Regions from separate parts of the Homo sapiens genome. Here region 1 is linked to region 2. The links are contacts of gene promoters, found by promoter capture Hi-C in human tissues and cell types (Jung and others, 2019). All regions are on one chromosome and are shown on one strand. Each heading gives the region's core, a stretch centred on a gene start or on the middle of the fragment in contact. The rest is flanking DNA. Distances are from core to core; before and after follow the strand shown. Region 1 has its middle 14 kb from the start of GPBP1. Region 2 holds the start of IL31RA (interleukin 31 receptor A).

What was found. The method cuts DNA at HindIII sites, captures the fragments that hold promoters and counts their contacts. A contact is called where the count stands out against the background at its distance.
Region 1: a contact is called between a fragment that was not itself captured here and the fragment with the promoter of IL31RA in region 2, in 1 of the 25 tissues and cell types used here (pancreas).

The regions. Positions count from the first base shown.
Region 1 is chr5:57,157,611-57,162,078 of GRCh38, reverse strand. No RefSeq gene overlaps it. Among named protein-coding and RNA genes, the nearest start is that of GPBP1, 14 kb to the left of the region's middle. The HindIII fragment of the contact is 4,747 bases long and covers 1-4,053 here.
Region 2 is chr5:55,848,568-55,852,852 of GRCh38, reverse strand. IL31RA (interleukin 31 receptor A) reads right to left here and starts at 1,496. Exons shown (of 15, transcript NM_139017.7): 1 at 1,220-1,496. The coding sequence starts at 1,282. The HindIII fragment of the contact is 16,782 bases long and covers 1-4,285 here.

The DNA.
Region 1 (4,468 bases), core at 431-2,930, 1.3 Mb before region 2:
CATCTCAAAAAAAAAAAAAGAAAAAAAAGAAAAAATTCCATCTTCATGGCCACAGTGTCAATTTGAGGATGTGACTCAAGCTTGACCAATTATAACCTTGTGTAGGACTTTGCCAGAGATGCTCTCATAAAGACATTCTCTTTCTACTGGGGTTACTAAAACTGAGAGGTTGTAAATGTGGGATCACCAGTCGACAAAATCTGGGATTTCTATTGTCTGCCATGTAGCTCTCAGAAACAAAAATAATCAGAGCATTGACATATTTTTTAGTCTTTGAATGTAGTCCTTCCTTCCTGAAGCAGTGATCATCTCTGAACTTCACAGTAATGGAAGTAAATACATTTTCTTTACTTCTTTACTAGTTTGTATTGGGTTTCTGTCATTTTCATCCTAAGGAGCACCTATGAATTCAGGGCCCTTGTCCTGTAAGTTGACTGATACAATGCAGTGTTTTCTTTCATCCATGATCTCCAAAGTCTATTGAGGAAGACCTTCAGCTTTTGGTAAAGAAACTGGCCATCTGAAACAACCTATAAGGTAAGTGTAACAATTCTGGTGTTTTTCTTTTTGTGTCAACAGCATGGCTAGCCCAAAGAAGAATCAGAATCACTGGCTCTGTCTATAAATAAGTTTCCCTTAAAAGCAGGATCCTTTTTGTGGAATATAATTGAAAAGGAAGCAATTTATCCTATCCAATTTTCCTCTATCACCCAAAGCAGAAGCTCTTTTCACGTCAGCATAATGAAAGGCAATCTGAGGAAGACTCTGGGAAGTCTCCTTGCAGTTAGCATTCTTTTCTACTGCAAAAGGTGAATCCAGCCAAACTTCTAGAAGTGTAAAATGAATGGGTGAAAAAAGACAATTTGAGGAAAAAAAGTTGGTGTATCAAAGGTTAAGAGAAAAGTAGAATTGGAATGAAAAAGTAAAATTGGAGGATGAGAAAAAGAAAATGAAAACAGAAAAATTACTTAAAATTTTCTGTGTTGTTTTTTGCTTTAACTTACAAGCAGAAAACTTAGTTACTAATGGCATAGTAATTCATCCATTAAACAGTTAGTCATATACAACCTACTCTGACTTAGGGACTGGGCTAAATGCTGAGGATGCAACAAGGAGCAAGATACCCATGGCCTCATCTCTGTTTATAGAAGTCAAAATTTGGTTCTAAGTAGGAAATAAATGAATCTCAAACACACACTGTATTAGTGTGGTGATGCTCTCCCCACTAGCCAAATGCCCTGGGCAATGGGCAAGGGGAGGCTAGAGCTTAGCCCCTTCTCAAGCTAAGCCTCCTGTTTATTATTATTATTGTTGTTGTTGTTGTTGTTGTTGTTGTTGTTGTTGTTTTTGAGATGGAGTCTCGCTGTGTCGCCCAGGCTGGAGTGCAGTGGCGCGATCTCGGCTCACTGCAAGCTCCGCCTCCCGGGTTCACGCCATTCTCCTGCCTCAGCCTCCCGAGTAGCTGGGACTATAGGCGCCCGCCACCCCGCCCGGCTAATTTTTTGTATTTTTCGTAGAGACGGGGTTTCACCGTGTTAGCCAGGATGGTCTCGATTTCCTGACCTCGTGATCCTCCCGCCTCGGCCTCCCAAAGTGCTGGGATTACAGGCGTGAGCCACCGTGCCCCGCCAAGCCTCCTGTTTAAAGGGCTTTAGAAGAACAAGTGAGCTAGGTTCACATTTTCCCCTGAAGCTTGGAAGCCACACAGCACCTGACTCAGCAAGGCTGTATTGACCTGCTTTTCTGACAAAAGAGCTAAGAGAGGGGACTGTGTTGGGAACGGTCTGCACCCAGTGGTTGGTGGGGCAGAGGATGCGTGAGTTATTCATAAGCCAAAGCCAAATATGGACTGGGGTAAGGGAGCTGGATTTGCACCAAGAAGACCACTTGTAAGGATGTGGTGACTCCAGCAGAGAGGTGGGTCACTGGAAACTCCTGGAAACCAGGGGCCAAGGGAAGACCACACATGGCCAGCTGGAGGAATCATTGCTTTACATAAAAAACAGTTTTTTTGTTTTTTTGTTTGTTTTTGAGACGGAGTTTTGCTCTTGTTGCCCAGGCTGGAGTGCAATGGCGTGATCTCGACTCACCGCAACCCCTGTCTCCCACGTTCAAGCTATTCTCCTGCCTCAGCCTCCTGAGTAGGTGGGACTACAGGCATGCGCTAGCATGCCCAGCTAATTTTTGTATTTTTAGTAGACATGGGGCTTCACCATGTTGGCCAGGATAGTCTCAATCTCTTGACCTCGTGATCTGCCCACCTTGGGCTCCCAAAGTGCTGGGATTACAGGTAAGCCACTGCGCCGGCCTAAAAAAAGGTTTTTAACATTAGAAATTCTCAAAGTGGTTGGGTGTGGTGTCCTACACCCGGGACACCACAGCTACTTGGGAGGTTGAGGCAGGAATATCCCTTGAGCTCAGGAATTCGAGGCTGTAGAGCACCAGGATCCCATCTATGAATAGCCACTACACTCCAGCCTGGGTAACATAGTGAGACTTTATCTCTACAAAGAAATTCTCAAAGTGGGAGAGTATCTAGAGAAACTCTCTATGGGAAAAAACCAGCATTTAACATCCGTTCAATCTAGAGGACACCAATACCAGATTATAACTGTATAAGACCTTTCTGTTCTTTATTTCTGCTTCCTCCCTTCCAAACAATAAAACATGAAATATATTTGAGCTTGACGGAAGGAGAACTTGAATTGGTGACAGTTTGGAATGTGGACTATTCAACTGGACTGGCCTTTTTCTTGTCTAAAATTGACAGTAAAAAAACTACAAAACATGCTTAAGATTTTGTCCTGGGACAGACAAGAACCATTGTAGAGAAAGGATTTAAATGTACAAACTGAGAAAGAGTGAAATAGTTTTCTGTTATCAAACTATTTACATGCCTTCCTTCATTACCCCATCTTCCAACTATCCCCAAGAGTGGGCTCACTTGCATATAATAAAGCACAGACTGTTTATGCAAAGGTTTCTGCTTACGTGTAGATGGGATTGTTACTAATTTTCATTCTATCCTGAAAGGGGTCTATTGGTCCAAAAGTGAAAAGCTGTTACTCTAGGCCAGTGGGTCTCAACTCTACAGATCTTTTTTTTTGAGACGGAGTCTTGCTCTGTCACCCAGGCTGGAGTGCCGTGGCTCGATCTCAGCTCACTGCAACCTTCACCTCCTGGGTTCAAGCTATTCTCTTGCCTCAGCCTCCCAAGTAGCTGGGATTACAAGTATGCACCACCATGTTGGCTAATTTTTGTATTTTTAGTAGAGACGAGGTTTCACCATGTTGGCCAGGCTGATCTTGAACTCTTGACCTCAAGTGATCTTCCTGTCTCAGCTTCCAAAAGTGCTAGGATTACAGGTGTGAACCACTGGGCCTGGCCAACTCGACAGATCTAACACCTCCCTTTTCTTTCAATAATTAACATTTTGTGTTCATTAATTTACTATAGTAAATAAACTGGAAGTAATTGATAAAACACACAGTTCAATGTGTAAATGTTTAGTCATGGTTTCACTAGAATGCATAATGGGATGGTCATACGTCTGTACACATATGTGGAATCACTGAAAAGCTACAAGTGCAGAAAAGCAGGTATATTGTACTGACTTAGATAAAATTAGCTGACATGTTATTACTGGTATTCTTTTCTTTTTTTTTGAGATGAAGTTTCGCTTTTGTTGCCCAGGCTGAAATGCAGTGGTGCGATCTCAGCTCAGTGCAGCCTCTGCCTCCCAGGTGTAGAAAGTAAAAAGTTTCCTCTTCAAAGTTTCCCTTCTTGTTAAAGAATAAATCATAAGTGTTAGAAATAATAGTTTCTTTTAAAGACTAACTTTCTTCAAGCCTCCTTGCTTTGTGTTAATAACTCTTTGTTAAGCCCTATCCTATGCAGCTGTTGGACATGCTCACAGCCTGTGCCCCTTCTTTATTTGAAATTGTTATTGCTTCTTTAAATCTTTCGTAAGCAACTTCTTCCTTTCCTTTGTTCTCCCTTGCCTTTACCTATTTAAAAAAGTTTTAGGTTGTTAGCAAATCGGTTATCAGTTTAGACTGTGAGGTTGGGCTCCAGCCAACGGATGCAGGACACAGCAATAAGGATAAGCCATATGCGTAAGGGATAAATATGTCTGCTTTTCCTTTGTTCGGTGTACTCTTGTGGCAAGACTGCTGGCAGGTGTACCCTTTCTGCAGAATGTAAAAATTGCCTTGCTGAGAGATCTTTTGTCTCTGTGCTGACTTTTCTTCGCAGCACTCATTATCTATTTCTAACACAGGTTCAAGTGATTCTCCCACCTCAGCCTCCCGAGTAGCTGGGATTACAGGCGCATACCACCATGCCCAGCTAGTTTTTGTATTTTTAGTAAACATGGGATTTCACCAAGTTGGCCAGGCTGGTCTTGAACTCCTGACCTCAGGTGATCCTCCTGCCTCAGCCTACTGGTATTATTTTCTGAAGCTCTGAA
Region 2 (4,285 bases), core at 247-2,746:
TGAGGTCAAAACAGTAAGCAACATGTCCTACATGGGTGGTGGAGCCAAGACTTGAACCAAGGCAGCCTGACTCTCAGTTTCCTAGCAATCAAAGGTTCAAATTAGATTATTTCTAGGATCCCTTCTAGTACCACAATTTTGCAACCGTTTGTAATGGACTGACAAAACCACGAGAAATAAATAGACCGGGGAAGAGATTATGATGCAAAAGGAAAGAAAACTAAGTTTTAAAACAAGCTATGCTTTCCAGCCCCACATTTTAATTTTTAACCCATTCCCCATCTTCCTTAGGCAATGTTCCACTAAGTAGGAGGAATAAGGGTGAGAAAGAGAGCTAGTCTTTTACCTAGAAGATTATAATTATGAGATATTTAAAATTCCAGCCAGGCGTGGTGGCTCACGCCTGTAATCCCAGCACTTTGGGAGGCTGAGGCAGGTGGATCACCTGATGTCAGGAGTTTGAGACCAGCCTGACCAACATGGCAAAACCCCATCTCTACTAAAAATACAAAAAAATTAGTCAGGCATGGTGGCAGGCACCTGTAATCCCAGCTACTCGGGAGGCTGAGGCAGGAGAATCGCTTGAACCCGGGAGGCAGAGGTTGCAGTGAGCCAAGATCGTGCCATTGTACTCCAACCTGGCGACAAGAGTGAAACTCTGTCTCAAAAAATAAATAAAATAAAATAAAATAAAATTCCATTATAATATACTATAGAGAAAAGCTAAATGCTAGCACAAAAATAGCAAGCATTTCTTGAATTTATTCAACCAATACTTAGTAAACACCTATTACATGCATAACAGCTCACTAAAGGTGTTGTGTATTAAATAGAATTCTGGTTAAGACAAGACCAATTGAGCATATACATTTATCTCTACTCTCTCAGGAAACTCCACAAAAATTATGGCAAAGATATAGAACCACAAGACAAAACAAATGGGAAGAGGCAACAGCAAATAAGAGATGTCAACAAATCTTTGGAAAAAGAGAAATGAATCAAGCCATAACTGAACTGGTAAAGATGAGAAAGCAGAAACCTAGAAATGCCTAATAAGGTTGCCAACAATAAGCAAACATAATTATGCCACGGAATCTCATACGGCTCAGGATTTGAGACACTAGGTAGGTAAAATCAACCCTCATTACTCACAGCTTCCTTATTTGTGAATTCACCTACTTGCTAGGAATTATTTGTAACCCCCCAAATCAATACTCACAATGTTTTGCGGACATTCACAGACACATGCCGTGGTGAAAAACTTGAGTTGCCTGATGCACATTCCCAGCTGAGGTGGAACAAGCTGACACTCTGCCTTCCTGTCTCAATTTTCATACTGCACACACATGTCTTTTCATGGTCTATTTAGTGCCATGCTGGTTATTACTATTTTTTTTTGCAATTTTTTGCCTTTTATGAGTGATTTTGCTGTTTCGAATGCCCCCCAAGCAGAGTGCTGGAGTGCTGTCTGGTGTTCCTAAGCAGAAGGAGGCTGTGCCTCATGGAGAAAATATGTGTGTTAAATAAGCTCTATTCAGGCATGAGTCATAGTACTGTTATTAGCCATGAGTTCAATGTTGATGAATCAACAATGTATATTAAATAAGGTGTCTTTAAACAGAAACACACACAAAACAAGGTTATGTATTGATTAGCTGACAAAAATGTTGTGACCAGAGGCTCACAGGCACCTAACTCTATATTTCCCCCACAGAGAATAATTCAGTATTTTCTTTTTTTCTTTTTTTTTTTCTTCTGAGACAGAGTTTCGCTCTTGTTGCTTAGGCTGGAGTGCAATTGCGCCATCTCAGCTCACCGCAACCTCCACCTCCCGGGTTGAAGTGATTCTCCTGCCTCAGGCCAGCCTCCCATGTAGCTGGGATTACAGGCATGCGCCACCAAGCCCAGCTGATTTTGTATTTTTAGTAGAGACGGGGTTTCTCCATGTTGTTCAGGCTGGTCTCAAACTCCTGACCTCAGGTGATCCACCTGCCTCGGCCTCCCAAAGTGCTGGGATTACAGGCATGAGCCACCACGCTCAGCAGTATTTTCTAATTCAGTGTTTGTGGCGATTTTATTGAACATAATTGCCAGGAATAATGAAGGAATAATGAGAATTGACTATACCTCTGAAACAAAAATCATAAGATTGGTTGAAAATCTGAAAAAGAAATAGACTACCTAATCCTAACCCCACAAAGCCAAATTCATTAAATTTCTCCCATCCCAACAGCAGATGGGGGGAAAAAACTTGAAAGAAAGGCAATGCAGAAAGCAGAATATTTTTTAAAAGAAATATTAGTTAAACCTTCATAGAAAATAAGAAAAAATGTTGTACCCACAAAATATGAATAGGATGCTATGATAAAGGCATAATTAGAGAACAAGAACTCTTGGAGATTCAAAATATGAGAGCTGAAGTCTAAAGACTAGAAAATAAAGTTGAGGAAATCTTCCAGAAGATAGAAGAAAAGACAAAGAGATGAAGAATAGCCAACATCTGACTACCAGCAGTACAGAAGCACAGAACAGAGGAATGGAGGGAAAGAAATAATGAGAGAAGTGATACAATAAAATTCCCAAGAATTGAGGAACATTTGTTTCCAGATTGAAAGGGCCCACTGTAAACAGCATAATAAATGAAAATAAATCTACACTGAAGTACAAAACAGTGAAGTTTCAGAATATCAAGAATAAACAGAAAAAAAATGTTTCCAGATAGGAAAAAAATAAGTCACATACAAAGGATCAAGGATGAGAATGGCTTTAGACTTAATAACAAAACCAGAAGTTAGAAAGCAATGGATCAATTCCTTTATAACTCTATTGGAAAATTATTTCTCACCTAGGATGCTCTACCCATCCAAATGATCCATCAGAAAGAAAGGTAAAACAACGTTCTTGAAACTGCATTTTCCAACATGCCAAGTTTCAAGAACTTTATCTCCCATGTGACCATTTTCGAGATGTTATTGAAAAAAGTGACTACAAAAACAAGAGCATAAGCCAAAACAAAAAGGAAAAATGGGCTCCCAAAAACAGCAAATTTCAAATAGAAGAGAGAGAATTCCAAGAATGGTGGCCAAGGGAGATCCCAAGATGATAAGAGTACAACAGGCTTGGAGAGCAACTAGCCCAAGTGAGTGGCAGACGCCAGGCTCAAGGAGGGATATTTCCAATGAAAAAATACATGGAGGGGACCCAATGGATCTGACAGATGTTGAAACTTGAAAAGTTTTGCAGCACTCTTAGAAAGTTTGGAGAAGGATGAGTAATCGGCTCAGTAAGTTAAGGAAACCAAAAAATGGCATAATTATTAATTCCAGGAAAAAGAAAATGTTATATAAGAAAATATATTTAAAGTCCAATATGTGGCTCAGCTATGAATAACTATAGAGTCACAACAATGAAAACATTAATGGATTTAACAAAAGTTATAACTATATTGAAAGAATGGGGTTAGGAAAGGATGCACATATGTGTGTGTTTGTGTATAGAATTGGTAAGAGACTTCAGTCTTTATCTTCCATAGTTAGTAAGAAGTCAATAGATAATGTCTAAAATTGAAAAAAAAATTAAATTGCAGTATAAACATGTTCTTTATAGATATGGAAATAAACCCCAGAAAAAAAAAAAGCTAAAAGAAATGAAAGTGATTTTTTCTGTGAAGAAAGTTTGGCAATGGGAAGGGATATAGCACTGTATTGCTGTTATTCGTGGTAAGTCTTAGAGTGCCACTTGAATGTTTAAACTATGTATATGTATTACTTTGATAAAATGTAAAATTATATTTTAAAAGTGAATTAATAGGTGAATTAACAAGTGCTCTCCCCATGAAGGGAAATAGATGTCATTCTCAGTCTGACACCTCAACCATTTCCTCCTAGGAGGAGCAATGTGATTTGTTGGGTGGTTAGAGAGTCTAGATGAGAGGTCTTTTGTTTACTTGTTTCATTTTTTTCTTTCTTTATTCCTTGTTTGTTTTGAAAATAAGAAAGTCATAGAAAGAGAGTTCTAAGATAGATAAATGGATTGACGGATGGATAGTGTTTCCCATTTGAAGTGGGCTTTGAGTTGCAGCCCCTGAGGCAGCCCCCCCATCTCACACCTTGTTAGTGGAAAACATAGTAAAAGCATTTTAGATGCCTTTAATCCGGGAATTCCACTTTTAGATATTTATCTAAAAGAAATAATCATGGAGTTTTCCAGAGATATAACATCAAGGATGGTCATCATGGCAATGCTTATAAAAACCAAAACAGATAAATTGTAATTTGTTTTAAAA